Linked DNA regions of Homo sapiens: region 1 is linked to region 2. The links are contacts of gene promoters, found by promoter capture Hi-C in human tissues and cell types (Jung and others, 2019). All regions are on one chromosome and are shown on one strand. The core of a region is centred on a gene start or on the middle of the fragment in contact, and the rest is flanking DNA. Distances in the headings are between cores, read along the strand shown. Region 1 overlaps UTP6 (UTP6 small subunit processome component). Region 2 holds the start of LRRC37B (leucine rich repeat containing 37B).

Region 1 (6,995 bases), core at 2,527-5,026, 120 kb before region 2:
GTTGATGGGTGCACCAAAATCTCAGACATCACCACTAAACCTGTTCCCCAAAAACCTATTGACATTTTTATTTTTTTGAGATGAAGTCTCGCTCTGTTGCCCAGGCGCTCTCAGCTCACTGCAACCTCCACCTCCCGGGTTCAAGCAATTCTCCTGCCTCGGCCTCCCAAGTAGCTGGGATTACAGGCGCCCACCACCACACCCAGCTAATTTTTGTATTTTTAGTAGAAATGGGGTTTCACCATGTGGGCCAGGCTGGTCGCAAACTCCTGACCTCAGGTGATCCACCTGCCTTGGCCTCCCAAAGTGCTGGGATTACAGGCATGAGCCACCATACCCGGCCCAAACCTATTAAAATTTAAGGGAAAAAAATGGGAGTAGAATATAAATTTTAAAAAGAGACTTATGCCAGGCATGGTGGCTCACGCCTGTAATCCCAACACTTTGGGAGGCCAAGGCGGGCAGGTCACAAGGTCAGGAGTACGAGACCAGCCTAGCCAACATAGTGAAACTACGTCTCTACTAAAAATACAAAAATTAGCTGGGCAGGGTGGCACACACCTATAGTCCCAGCTACTTGGGAGGCTGAGGCAGGAGAATCACTTGAACCCAGGAAGCAGAGGTTGTGGTGAGCCGAGATCACGCCAATGCACTCCAGCCTGGGCAACAGATCAAGACTCCATCTCAAAAAATAAATAAGTTACTGAAATGTTCAATTATAGCCTAGGAAAAATAAGTATTTTCTGAAAGAAACAGGACACTATTCCTACAGAGTTTTATACACATTCTAATGGAAAATTTCAAAACTAGCTAAAGATCTTCATTAAGAAAAGAATGTTTCACTTTCCTACCAAAAATAATGTTCAAAAGATACCTACCTTTAATTATGCTTACAGAATTTTTGTAGATGATCCATGCCAACTCGCCCTTAAGGATTTCTTCAGAATAATCAGGATTCTCCTAAAGAGTGTTATATCAAACGTAACTTAACAGGTAGTACAAGGAGGAAAAGCACTAGGACGAAAATTAACAATCCTAGACTACCTGTGCCATATGACCACTGGTAAATCATGTCTCTCTCTCCGGGCCAGTTCCCTCACTTGTAAAGTGTGCAGCTTGAACAAGATCACTGACCTTCCAACTGTGTTCTCTGAGGCTCCAAGAGTGGTGGCAAGATCACATGGCTTAAGGCCTCACTCTCCATTTGGACCAAAACAGGTCAGATTTTACATGTCTTGTTTGCGCTTCTCTGTAACATTTTATTTGAATAAAAAAGTCCTGGCCTGGCGTGGTGACTCATGCCTATAATCCTAGCACTTTGGGAAGCCGAGGCAGGCGGATCACTTGAGATCAGGAGTTCATGACCAGCCTGGCCAACATGGCAAAACCCCATCTCTACTAGAAATACAAAAATTAGCCGGGAGTGGTGGCGGGCACCTGTAATCCCAGCTACTTCGGAGGCTGTGGCAGGAGAATCACTTGAACCCGGGAGGCGGAGGTTGCAGTGAGCCAAGATCGTGCCAGTGCACTCCAGCCTGGGCGACAAGGAGCAACACTCCGTCTGAGAAAAAAGTTCTAAGCTGGAAACCACAATAACAGACAATAGCAAAGTTTCTTCTCAGCTCTAACATTCTAAATCTTTTAATTATTCTGTCATATAAAAAATTATATAAAAAGGGAAAGAAAGAAGGCCAGGAAACCACACATTTCACAACCTTTCTCAAGCTCCTTGAATCCATTAATATATCACTTTATGAGATCATACAGCGTTAAAGAATAGTATTTGGCTATTCTGTAAGTAACAATTTTGAGAACCACATTAATTAGTCCAAATATCTATTTTTATAGCATAAAGCTTCATTTTCCTAACTAAGTCCATTTATAAGTAACACTAACTCATCTGGAAGTTTCAAAATGTAACAACATTAAACATTAAAGCTTGAACCCGGAGGCAGAGGTTGCAGTGAGCCAAGATGGTGCCACTGCACTCCAGCCTGTGTGACAGACCGAGACTCCGTCTCAAAAAAAAAGAAAAAAAAAGAAAAATATATTCCAAATATTTTCTCTTACTCCTAAGCAGGCTCAAAATGTTATACATCGTTAGCAAGTGAGAATAAAATAATTAGAACCTTACCACATCCATACTGGCTTTTTCAAATTCTTCCTTCTCCTTCCTCAGTTTTTCAGCATGCATCAGCTCCATCCTAAAGTACTACAGAAGAGAAATAAACTGAAAATCTTTGGAGATGCTTTTTAAAATTTTTTTGAGACAGGGTCTTGCTCTGTCACCCAAGCTGGAGTGCACTGGTGATGACAGCTCATTTCGGCCATGAATTCCTGCACTCAAGTGATCCCCTTGCCTCAGCTTCCTGAGTAGCTAGGATTAGAGGTGCATTCCATCACACTCAGATAATTTTTTTATTTTTATTTTTTGTAGAGACAGGATCTTGCTACGTTGCTGCCTGGCCTGAAACAACTGACCTCAAGTGATCCTCCTGCCTCAGCCTCCCAAAGTGCTGGGATTAAAGGCATGAGCCACCACACCCAGGCTTAACTTTCATTTAAGAATTAAATAGCAGGCTGGGCACGGTGGCTCATGCCTGTAATCCCAGCACTTTGGGAGGCCAGGCGGGCGGATCACTTGAGGTCAGGAGTTCGAGACCAGCCTGCCCAACATGGTAAAACCCCATCTCTACTAAAAATACAAAAGTTAGCGGGGCATGGTGGTGCACACCTATAATCCCAGCTACTTCGGGGGCTGAGGCAGGAGAATCGTTTGAACCCCGGGCGTGGAGGTTGCAGTGAGCCAAGAACACACCATTGCACTCCTGCCTGAGCAACAAGAGTGAGACTCCATCTCAAAAAAAAAAAAAAAAAAAAAAAGAATTAAATAGCAGTTTCTCTTTTATCCTGACAAATGACTCAGAAAACAGTGCAGCTTCCAATACATTCTTTCTCTTATTTGGGATTTTATCTAAAGCTTGGCCCTCAAATGTTCTAAGGCACCATCCATAAGGGAGTAAGTCCCCGAAGAGAGAAAGGAAGTACTACCAGGTATCTATCTCAAGAAAAGGAGACAGAAAGAACATGGAGAAAAGAGGAAGACAAGGCAAAGAAGCCAGAAGAGGGCTTCTTTGGAGAACCAAGGGAACAAGAAAAAAAAATAAAAACAAAAGTATAAAGAGGCTAAATCTGGCTCCCAGCTAAAAAAATGTTAGAGTCTAGTTCCCTATTCCTTCCAACCACAGGAAGGAGGCGGGGGTTCCAACCTCTCAACTAACTTAGAAGCTGCAGTGTCAACACCTACAAAAAGATGTTTTTCCCTGGCCGGGCATGGTGGTTCACACCTGTAATCCCACCACTTTCAGAGGCTGAGGCAGGCAGATCACCTGAGTTCGGGAGTTTGAGACCAGCCTGCCCAACAGGGCGAAACTCCATCTCTACTAAAAATACAAAAATTAGCCGGACGTGGGATCCCACCTACTCAGGAGGCTGAGGCAGGAGAATTGCTTGAACCCAGGAGGTAAAGGTTGCAATGAGCCAAGACCGGGCCACTACACTCCAGCCTGGGAAACAGAACGAGACTCCATCTCAAAAAATAAAAAAGATGTTTGTCCTTACCCACACCTCCACACTTATTCCTAGCCTCCATAAATTGAAGCCTTTTTTATTTAATAAAGAATACATGGGCCGGGCGCAGTGGCTCACGCCTGTAATCCCAGCACTTTGGGAGGTGGAGGCGGGCGGATGACCAGGTCAGGAAATCGAGATCATCCTGGCTAACATGGTAAAACCCCATCCCTAATAAAAAATACAAAAATTTAGCCAGGCATGGTGGCAGGCACCTGTAGTCCCAGCTACTCGGAAGGCTGAGGCAGGAGAATGGTGTGAACCCAGGAGGCAGAGCTTGCAGTGAGCCGAGACCGTGCCACTGCACTCCAGCCTGGGCAACAGAGCAAGACTGTCTCAAAAAAAAAAAGTGAAACCAGCCTGGCCAACATGGCAAAACCCCGCCTCTACTAAAAATACAAAAAAAATAGCCAGGTATGGTGGCGGGCACCTGTAATCCCAGCTACTCGGGAGGCTGAGGCGTAAGAATTGCTTGAATCCAGGAAAAAAAAATATGTCTCCAGAGGACCAAACTGAAACATCACTGTCTCATCCTATGTGCATACACACTCACTTCTTTATAAAGTTTTGGGCACTCTGGATGAAAGCGCAGTGCGCGAAGAAATAGTTGCCTTGCGCTTTCTGAAGACAATCGATCTTCCATTTCCCATTTGGCTGCCATAATCCACAAAGCTGTAAGTGAAAAACCATCAGATTTCATTTCAATAAATTAATCAAGTCAGACAAGAAAAGAACCAAATGATCCAATTTTAATACTCGCACAATTTTTTTTTTTTTTTTTTTTTGAGACAGTCTCACTCTGTCGCCCAGGCTGGAGTGCAGTGACGCAATCTCGGCTCACTACAAGCTCCGCCTCCCAGGTTCATGCCATTCTCCTGCTTCAGTCTCCCGAGTAGCTGGTACTACAGGCACCCGCCACCATGCCCGGCTAATTTTTTTTGTATTTTTAGTAGAGACGGGGTTTCACCATGTTAGCCAGGATGGTCTCAATCTCCTGACCTCGTGATCCGCCCGCCTCGGCCTCCCAAAGTGCTAGGATTACAGGCATGAGCCACTGCGCCCGGCCCACTCAAACAATTTTTTAAAAAAACCTTTAACAAAAGGGGAAGCAGTTCGGACAGACAGTTTCTAACTGCAAAGCTTGGCTACGTTATCTAAAATTAGAAACAGTATTCTGAAGCAAATGAGTAAATGATAACAAATGTTCAATTTAGAGGATGAGTACCTAAGTGTCTGTTACTGTTTTCATCAGATCTAAGGACATTATTGTAAGTCACATACAATTTTTTTCTTTTTTTGAGACAGGGTCTTGCTCTGTTGCTCAGGCTGCAGTGGCACAAACAACAGCTCACTGCAGTCTTCACCTACCAGAATCCCACCTTAGCCCCTCAAGTAGCTGGGACCACATGCATACACCATCACGCCCACCTAAATTTTGTAACTTTGTAGAGATGGGTTTTCACCATGTTGCTCAGGCTGGTCTCAAACTCCTGATCTCAAATGATCTGCCTGCCTCGGCTTCCCAAAGTGCTGGGATTATAGGCATAAGCCACCGTGCCTGGCCCACATACAAATTTTAAAGGTAGTAAAATGCCAGAAAAAGGCCAGGCACAGTGGCTCACACCTGTAGTTCCAGCACTTTGGGAGGCCGAGGCAGGCAGATCACTTGATGTCAGGAGTTTGAGACCAGCCTGGCCAACATGGTGAATCCTCGTTTCTACTAAAAAATACAAAAAATTAGCCAGGCGTGGTGGCACCCTCCTATAGTCTCAGCTATTACGGAGACTGAGGCAGAAGGATCACTTTAACCTGGGAGGCAGAGGTTGCAGTGAGCTGAGATCACACGACTACACCCCAGCCTGGGCGACAGAGCAAGACTCCATGTCAAAAAAAAAAGTCCAGAAAAAACTGCTTATCTTACCACAAATAAAATTATTTTTTGCTCTTTTCTCAATATTTAGAGAAATTATAGGGCAAGCCACAGTGGCTTACTCCTGTAATCCCAGCACTTTGGGAGGCTGAGGTGCACAGATCGTTTGAGGCTGGGAGTTCTGAGACCAGTCTGGCCAACATGGCGAAACCCCATCTCTACTAAAAATACAAAAATTAGCCAGGCGTGGTGGTGCACATCTGTAATCCCAGCTACTTAGAAGGCTGAGGCATGAGAATCACTTGAACCCAGGAGACAGAGGTTGCAGTGAGCTGATATCACACCACTGCACTCCAGCCTGGGCAACAGAGGCAAGACTCTGTCTCAAAAAAATAAAAAATAAAATAAATTATAATTCATAATTTTCTCTAAAACCCTTTGTCCTTCTACATGGGAAATTAACCCTGAGTTAACATTCTAGCTATTTCCCTAGACATTTAATAAAGGTCACCTATCTTATCAAGATTGCTTTTGTTAAAAATGACGCCTGATTGGTAACCACACCTGGAATAGAAGGGTCAGCAATGGTGGCAAGCAATTGCTTTGGGCTTCCTTGAACATGTGACTCCTAAAATTGAGCATGACCTTTCTAGGATCTGTAGAAGCCATGCCCATCCATGGGGCTTCTAAACCAGACTGGATCCCCTACCTACTGATATGATCTCATCTCCTCATACCTGAACAGTCACCTTAGGAACCAGAGGCTACCTCCATTCTGCTAAGAGCATTCTGCAGAAGGAACATACCTAAGGCTATCCTGCTATATTTCTGAGTAAACTGGTGCCAAATGTAGTCTATTTGAGTCTTGTGTGGTATAAGATATCTGATTAAGCCTAATACCCTGAGAATAGGTGCTGAGGCCCCTCCACTATCAACTAGACCATTTATACATTATTCACAAGAGAAATATTTCTCTTACAAAACATGAGTCTACTCTGTACCAGCACTCTTCTAAAATTTATATTGATATTTTCCCCTTTAAGCTTCTAAAATTCCTCAGATTTGACTGCCTCCAAATAAAATGTCCCACAAAGGATTCAAAAGTTTATTTTGCCATCATCTAAAAAGAAATACAGTCTGGCCGGGAGTGGTGGCTCACGCCTGTAATCCCAGCACTTTGGAAGGCCAAGGCGGGTGGATCACGAGGTCAGGGGTTCGAGAGACCAGCCTGACCAACGTGGTAAAACCCAGTCTCTACTAAAAATACAAAAATTAGCTGGGCGTGGTGGCGGGCACCTGTAATCCCACCTACTCAGGAGGCTAAGGCAGGAGAATTGCTTCAACCTGGGAGGCGGAGGTTGCAGTGAGCCAAGATCACACCACTGCCCTCCAGCCTGGGCGACAGAGCGAGACTCCGTCTCAAAAAAAAAAGAAATACAGTCCTTCTTGCCTGCAGATACAACACCTAGGACAGTAACTAGTATATAGTAGGCAG
Region 2 (6,909 bases), core at 4,376-6,875:
GCTAACCATAAGAAAAACCCATAAGGAGGGCTTTCTACAACATACCTAACCAGTACTCCTCCAAACTGTCAAGGCCATCAAAAACAAGGAAAGTCTGAGAAACCGACAGTCTAGAGGAAAACATGATGACTAAATATCATGTGGTATAGGATCATGAGGCAGAAAAAGGACGTCAGGTAAAAACTAAGGAAATCTGAGTAAAGTATGGACTTGAGTTAATAACAGTGTGTCAACACTGGCCCATTAGTTGTAACAAATATCCCACACTAATCTAAGACGTTAATAACGGATAACCAAGTACAGGATATACGGAAACCCTCTACTATCTTTGCAACTTTTATATAAATCTAAAGCTATCCTAAAATTTTAAAGTTTTATTTTTTAAAAGCAAAAAGTTCAAAAAGAATATTTCTTAAAAGCTGGAATGCCAAAAAAGTTTAATAAGATACTTGAATTAAACTAACATTTTGGGGAATATTAGTAATGACCCAAGGCAGAAATAAAACACTAAAATATATAGCATCCCTAATTTATGTGGGAATGAACAAGGTTCTCTTGGGAAAATGAAATACGGAGAACTAAAGTAAAATATACACACAGTCATGCACTGCACAATGTTTCAGTCCACAAGGAACCACATACATGACGGTGATCCCATAAGATTTTATGTAGTACCTTTTTAAATGTTTAGATATGGTTAGATACACAAATACCTACCGTTGTGCTACAGCTGATCACGGGATTCAGTACAGTCACATGATGTGCAGGTTTGCAGCCTAGCAGCAATAGGCTATGCCGTATAACCTAGGTGTGTTGGAAACCCTACCATCTAGGTTTGTGTAAGTGTACTCTATGATGTTCACACAATCGGGACATCGCCAAATGACACATTTTTCAGAATGTATCCCCATCATTAAGCAATGCATGACTGTACTTGAAAATTTTAATCTATTTTTGGCCGGACACGGTGGCTCAAGCCTGTAATCCCAGCACTTTGGGAGGCCAAGGCAGTTGGATCACGAGGTCAGGAGATCGAGACCATCCTGGCTAACACGGTGAAACCTCATCTCTACTAAAAATACAAAAATTTAGCCGGGCATGGTGGCAGTGGGCGCCTGTAGTCCCAGCTTCTCAGGAGGCTGAGGCAGGAGAATGGCGTGAACCTGGGAGGCGGAGGTTGCAGTGAGCCAAGATTGTGCCACTGCGCTCCAGCCTGGGCGACAGAGCGAGACTCCATCTCAAAAAAAAAAAAAAAATTTTTTTTAATCTATTTTCAAATTTTGCAGTGATTTCATACCAACAGTTTAGCTCAGACTTAACAAAAATAAAATGAGAAAATGACCCTCTCACCATTAGCTGTCACCAGAAAGGATTTGTTACTGCCCTGAGCCTTATCGGTCAGGTCTTCAGTTATGTCCATGTGTCGGATTTCTTCATGCATTTCTTCCAGAATTTTGCAGAGTTCTGCTTCCCAATAATCTTTGTCTAGACAGTCAATTAATTCTGCAAGCTGGACCTTTGTGCTGTAGTACCAAATTTTATTTTCATTTTCATTTTCTGTATCTTCTCTGTTTAAAAATGGGGAAATACTTTATATGTTAGACATAATGCCACTTTTCTGACAGTTTCATCTACCCAGTGAAAAGTTAAAGCTTATGCACTAAAACTCAATATATGTGCTCACAAGAGATCCCTGCAGGTCTTACTCAAACTTGATTTACTCTGAGAAAGGACATCTAAAAAACTTGATACAGAGAAAGATGACCTCAAAATTCAGAACCATATGAGAGTACTTTGTGGAAGCCAGTTTCAGCTACATCTCAATCAACTTTAAGATCATCAATGTAACAATATGATGAGCCGAATGTATTTAGAATTATTTTATTTTAATTATTTATTGAGATGGAGTTTTGCTCTTGTCACTCAGGCTGGAGTGCAGTGGCGCGATCTCGGCTCACTGCAACCCCTGGCCTCCCGGGTTCAAGCGATTCTCCTGCCTCAGCCTCCAGAGTAGCTGGGACTACAGGCATGTGCCACCATGCCCAGCTAATTTTTGTATTTTTAGTAGAGATGGATTTGGCCAACATGTTCTTGATCTCCTGACCTTGTGATCTGCCCACCTCGGCCTCCTAAAGTGCTGGGATTATAGGCATGAGCCACTGCACCCAGCCTAGAATTATTTTAGAATAAAATAAATGTATTTTAGAGACAGGGTCTCACTTTGTCACCCAGGCTAGAGTGCAGTGGCACCATCATGGCTCACTGCGTACTCAGACTCCTAGGTTCAAGCAATTCTCCTGCCTCAGCCTCCCAAGTAGCTAGGACTACAGACATGTGCCACCATACCTGGCTAATTTTATAATATAGTTTAGAAATATTTCCATCAAACTGGTGTAAACGCTTTGCTAAGTTCTGGTTCTTGAAGGAGTTATCTCAAATAATATCTCATCCCTTTTCTTCGGGACAATCGAAGCCCAAAATGAAGAGAAGAGCTTCCTCTCCAGCCTAAAACTCTCCTAAGGTTCCATTCACTTTTAATGGATTTAAAGACTTCAACAGAGATGGTCACTAACTTAAAAGAAACAAGGCAAATTAATGTCTAGGACTAGATGTAGAGGAACACACATAATGGTATTTCTGTTCCCACTCAAAAGCAATTCAAGAGTATGTGTGAGGCAATTGATGACAGTGAGTCTGATTTTCCTGTTTCCTCAATGGCAAACTGAGGGAACTGAAAAAACTGGGCTTTTGGAGAGATCTGGCTTTAAATAGGCTAATGTGCTTAGAAGATATGTGGACATGGACAAAACACAACCTCTCTGAGTCTCTAAGACATTTTATTTATCTCACTTGTAAAATGAGGATATAATAAAACCTGCCTGTGTGCCACTATAAGACTTAAAAGTATAATGATGAGGCATCTACCATAGTGCCTGGGCACATTAGTGATCAATAAATGTTAAATATTATTGTTAAGGTAGTAAATGAATAAAAATTCAGCAGCATTACAGGAATGAGTCACTCAGTAATTCTGAAGAAAGAAGGGCTATATTAAATCATAGATAAAAGGATACTGGTGGAGTACCCTTATTCTGAAAATCTGAAATCCAAAATGCTCCAAGGTCCAAAAGTTTTTGAGTGTCAACATGCTGTTCAAAGGAAATGCTCATTAGAGCATTTCAGATTTTCAGATTAGAAATGATCAACTGGTAAGTAGAATGCAAATATTCCAAAAATGCCCAAAACACTTCTGATCCAAAGCATTTTAGGTAAGGATGCTCAACCTATACAGTATTCACTGACTTAACATTTTTCTTCTTGAAGCCACAGAAAGATAAATTCATTAAAGCATAAAGGAGCAAAACAGCAAATACCTGCTAATCCATTCAAAGAAGAGTTGGGTTTTTTTGGTCTATTTTGTTTAACTTTTCTCTTTTTTTTGGTGGGGGGGAGGGGGTGGTGAAGGAGTCTCGCTCTGTTGCCCAGGCTGGAGTGCAGTGGCATGGTCTCCGCTCACCACAACCTCCGCCTTCCAGGTTCAAGCGATTCTCCTGCCTCAGCCTCCTGAGTAGCTAGGACTATGGGCACATGCCACCATGCCCGGCTAATTTTTGTGTTTTAAGTAGAGATGGGGTTTCACTATGTTGGCCAGGCTAACCTCGAACTTCTGGGCTCAAGTGATCCACCCACCTGGCTTCCTAAAGTGCTGGGATTACAGGTCTGAGCCACCACACCTGGCCACCCTCTTCAAACAAAATATGAGCATTTCCATTGGCCTAGGTCTTCACCTTGTCTACTTTATTGACTTACATTACTTACCTAGTCCCTGAAGACATAACACACATTTGCCACCCTTAGAGCTCAACCAAACTGTATTGAATGCATGTATTTGGCAATTAGTGCTTGTATTTTAATTTTCATTTCACATATGTGTTCCATTTTCCTAACTAGATTGAAATAAGCCATCTCCTATTAGGTATTTTTCTTTCTTTTTTAAAAATTTTGAGACAGGGTCTTGCTCTGTCACTCAGGCTGGAGTGCAGAGGTGCAATCATGGCTCAGTGCAACATCCACCTCCCAGGCTCAAGCGATCCTGCCCCCTCACCCTCTGGCGTAGCTGGGACCACAGGTGCGCACCACCATGCCCGGCTAATTTTTCAATTTTTTTCTAGAGACGAGGTCCTGCTATGTTGCCCAGGCTAGTCTCAAACTCTTGACCTCAAGCAATCGTCCGGCTTTGGCTTCTCAAAGGGCTGGGATTGCAGGCATGAGCTATCGCGCCCGGCCAAGTATTTTTGTTTAAATTACTTTTTGGTTGTCACTTATCTCAATAAATATTAACATATGTTTACGAAACCTTTCTTTTTCTTTTTTTTTTTTTTTTTTTTTTTTTTTTTTTGAGACGGAGTCTCGCTCTGTCTCCCAGGCTGGAGTGCAGTGGCGCGATCTCGGTTCACTGCAACCTCCGCCTCCCGGATTTTACGCCATTCTCCTGCCTCAGCCTCCCGAGTAGCTGGGACTACAGGCGTGCACCACCTACGCCCGGCTAATTTTTTTTGTATTTTTAGTAGAGATGGGGTTTCACTGTGCTAGCCAGGATGGTCTCGAACTCCTGACCTTGTGATCCGCCCGCCTCGGCCTCCCAAAGTGCTGGGATTACAGGCGTCAGCCACTGTGCCCGGCAAACCTTTCTCTTATCTGAAGAACTGACCTCAACCACTCAGGGTTGAGTCCCTGTGATAAGGTTTGAGGGTGCCTGAACTGTCACCATGATTCGTCCCCTGGGCTGAGCTCAAACCTAGTGATTTGTCAGGTAAATAAATTAAGGTTATTTCCCGATAATACAGACCTGTAACACCGTGAAGTAGGTTTTAGGCAGGATTCCCTCTTTTCCACTGCAAAGGAGAGGTAAGTTCTTGCTAAGGTGGTCAGGCTCCTAGCTGGGACACTGGGAAGGTGGCGGGAGATTGGAACATGCAGTAGTTGCATTCTGGAGTTTACTGAGGCTTTCCGAGTGGGGATCCCATGCAACAGGTCTTAGGGACCCCCCTCCCTCCAGGCGTGGCAGCCCGGGGTGTGGCTCCTGGCACAGATCCGGAGCAGTTGTCATCGGAGTCAATTCAGGACTCCACTTCCAAGCTTCGGAGTTTCCTAAATTCTGGGGGCTTGTCTCCCTGTACCCCACCCCGACTAATTTTCCTCGGTCGCTGGCGCTGCCCCGTCCCTTAGGTCGCTCGGGCCGCCCCCCTCCGCGACTTTTTTTTTCTTTCTCTCGCTGCCTCTTTCAGCCTCAGTTTCCCTAGAGGGCGGGAGGGGAACGATATTTGGGGGCTCTCCTGCCTTCCTCTCCGAGCCGCGGAAGGGGAGTCGCGGGAAGGAGACCCGGCAGGCTTTGGGCTCCAGCCAGGGGTCCGCGGAGACTGTGGTCTCCGAAGGCCTTAGACGCGGGGCTTGTCAGGAGCTGCGGGCCTCTTTCAGCCGCGCCACCCGCACCCGGAGCGCCGTGCTGCGCCAAGTCCAGGCGCCCCGAGCTCTCCGCCCCCGACTCAATGCTCCCGCGCTCCCCCTAGCGGCCGCCGCGCCACCTCGCCCCCTTCCCAGGCTGGGCGGCGGCGCACCTCACGTGACCGCGCTCCTGTAGAGGGAAGAAACAAGGTGGCGGTTGAAGGCGATCTTGAGTGGGGCCCCAGCAATTCGGTTGAGCCTTCTCCCTCCACTCGCTTCCGCCGGCCGGGCCCCTCCCGCCCAGCCCCTCGGGCCTCCCAACCCGGCCCCGGCGCTCCCCACCGCCGCCACTGCGCCCGGCCCTCCCCGTCAGCTTTCCCTTCTCCCGCCGCCTGGGCTCCAACAAGAGGGGCCGGCGGGGCAGGCCGACCAAGCAGCCCGCGGCTCCCGCTGCGGAGCGCTGCGCCCCGGCCCCGCCGCCGCCGCCGCCCACGTCCGGACCCATCGGGGGCTCCCCTCGCCGATACGCGGTAGTAGCCGGGGCAGGTGGGCAGCCGCCAGGCTGAGGTGGCGCCCAAGACGCGGCTGAGCTCGCCCAGGGTGGGCAGCAGTAGCCGGAGGAAGCCACCGCCGCCGGCCCGCCCCGCGCCGGCACCAGCGCACGGGCCCGGCGGGGGCGCGGGGGCAGCCACCTAGCCCGGACCACCGCAGCCCGGAGGGCTGTCAACAGAGTGGTGTATGATGACTACGAGAGCGAGGAGGAGGAGTAAGAGGAGGGGGGCGGCGATGCCGAGGAGACCCAGGAGTCTGAGGACAACTAGGAGGATGACATGGAGGAGGACGACGATGACTCCGATTATCCGGAGGAGCTGGAAGATGACGACGAGGACGCCAGTTACTCCACGGAAAGCAGCTTCAGCAGCACTCCAGGTACCCACCCAGCGCAGTTGCTGCAGACTCATTCCCCACCTCCTCTCCCCTCCCCCCTTGCTCACTTATGTGCTGTGCATCCCGCTCCGATCTCCCGCCAACCCCGCCGACCCCTAAACTTTAGAGGGGAAATGGGAGGGCACATCAAGTGGCAAAAAACTAGATTTATAAGAGGAAAGAAGCACATTGTTCAAAATGGAGATTGCATTGTTGCAGGCCGCACTCGCTTGCTCCCCGTCCCCCCAACTCCCTTTTTTTCTCCTCAAAATTTGTGCCAGTGCAGTGTCTCCACCGGGCAGGATTGAAACTTTGGCAAACACATATCCATTGCATTCATTTTTCTCCCCTTGTTTTGGTGTGGTTTTCTGGAATGAAAGAAGCCTCTTGTTTTGCAAACCTCTTTGCATTTCTAATGTGTTTCCTTTCGGATTTTCATTATATATCTGTTCCTTAAAAGGGAATTAAGGATTTGTACAGATTGTGGCACACAGACACACAGAAAAACATGCCTGTGTTCACACCCCTAGCTGTGGT

The links. The method cuts DNA at HindIII sites, captures the fragments that hold promoters and counts their contacts. A contact is called where the count stands out against the background at its distance.
Region 1: a contact is called between a fragment that was not itself captured here and the fragment with the promoter of LRRC37B in region 2, in 3 of the 25 tissues and cell types used here (H1 embryonic stem cells, hippocampus and mesenchymal stem cells).

What each region holds. Positions count from the first base shown.
Region 1 is chr17:31,885,102-31,892,096 of GRCh38, forward strand. UTP6 (UTP6 small subunit processome component) reads right to left here. Exons shown (of 19, transcript NM_018428.3): 7 at 4,184-4,302; 8 at 2,135-2,212; 9 at 879-960. Among named protein-coding and RNA genes, the nearest start is that of UTP6, 13 kb to the right of the region's middle. RefSeq lists an enhancer at 4,842-5,021. The HindIII fragment of the contact is 3,760 bases long and covers 1,897-5,656 here.
Region 2 is chr17:32,001,758-32,008,666 of GRCh38, forward strand. It overlaps LRRC37B (leucine rich repeat containing 37B), which reads left to right and starts at 5,626. Exons shown (of 15, transcript NM_001321350.2): 1 at 5,626-6,375. LOC124903972 reads right to left here and starts at 5,950. Exons shown (of 4, transcript XM_047437248.1): 1 at 5,619-5,950; 2 at 4,850-4,948; 3 at 1,351-1,568; 4 at 1. The coding sequence starts at 5,950. RefSeq lists an enhancer at 4,627-5,549 and silencers at 5,592-5,641, 5,682-6,031. The HindIII fragment of the contact is 11,687 bases long and covers 3,396-6,909 here.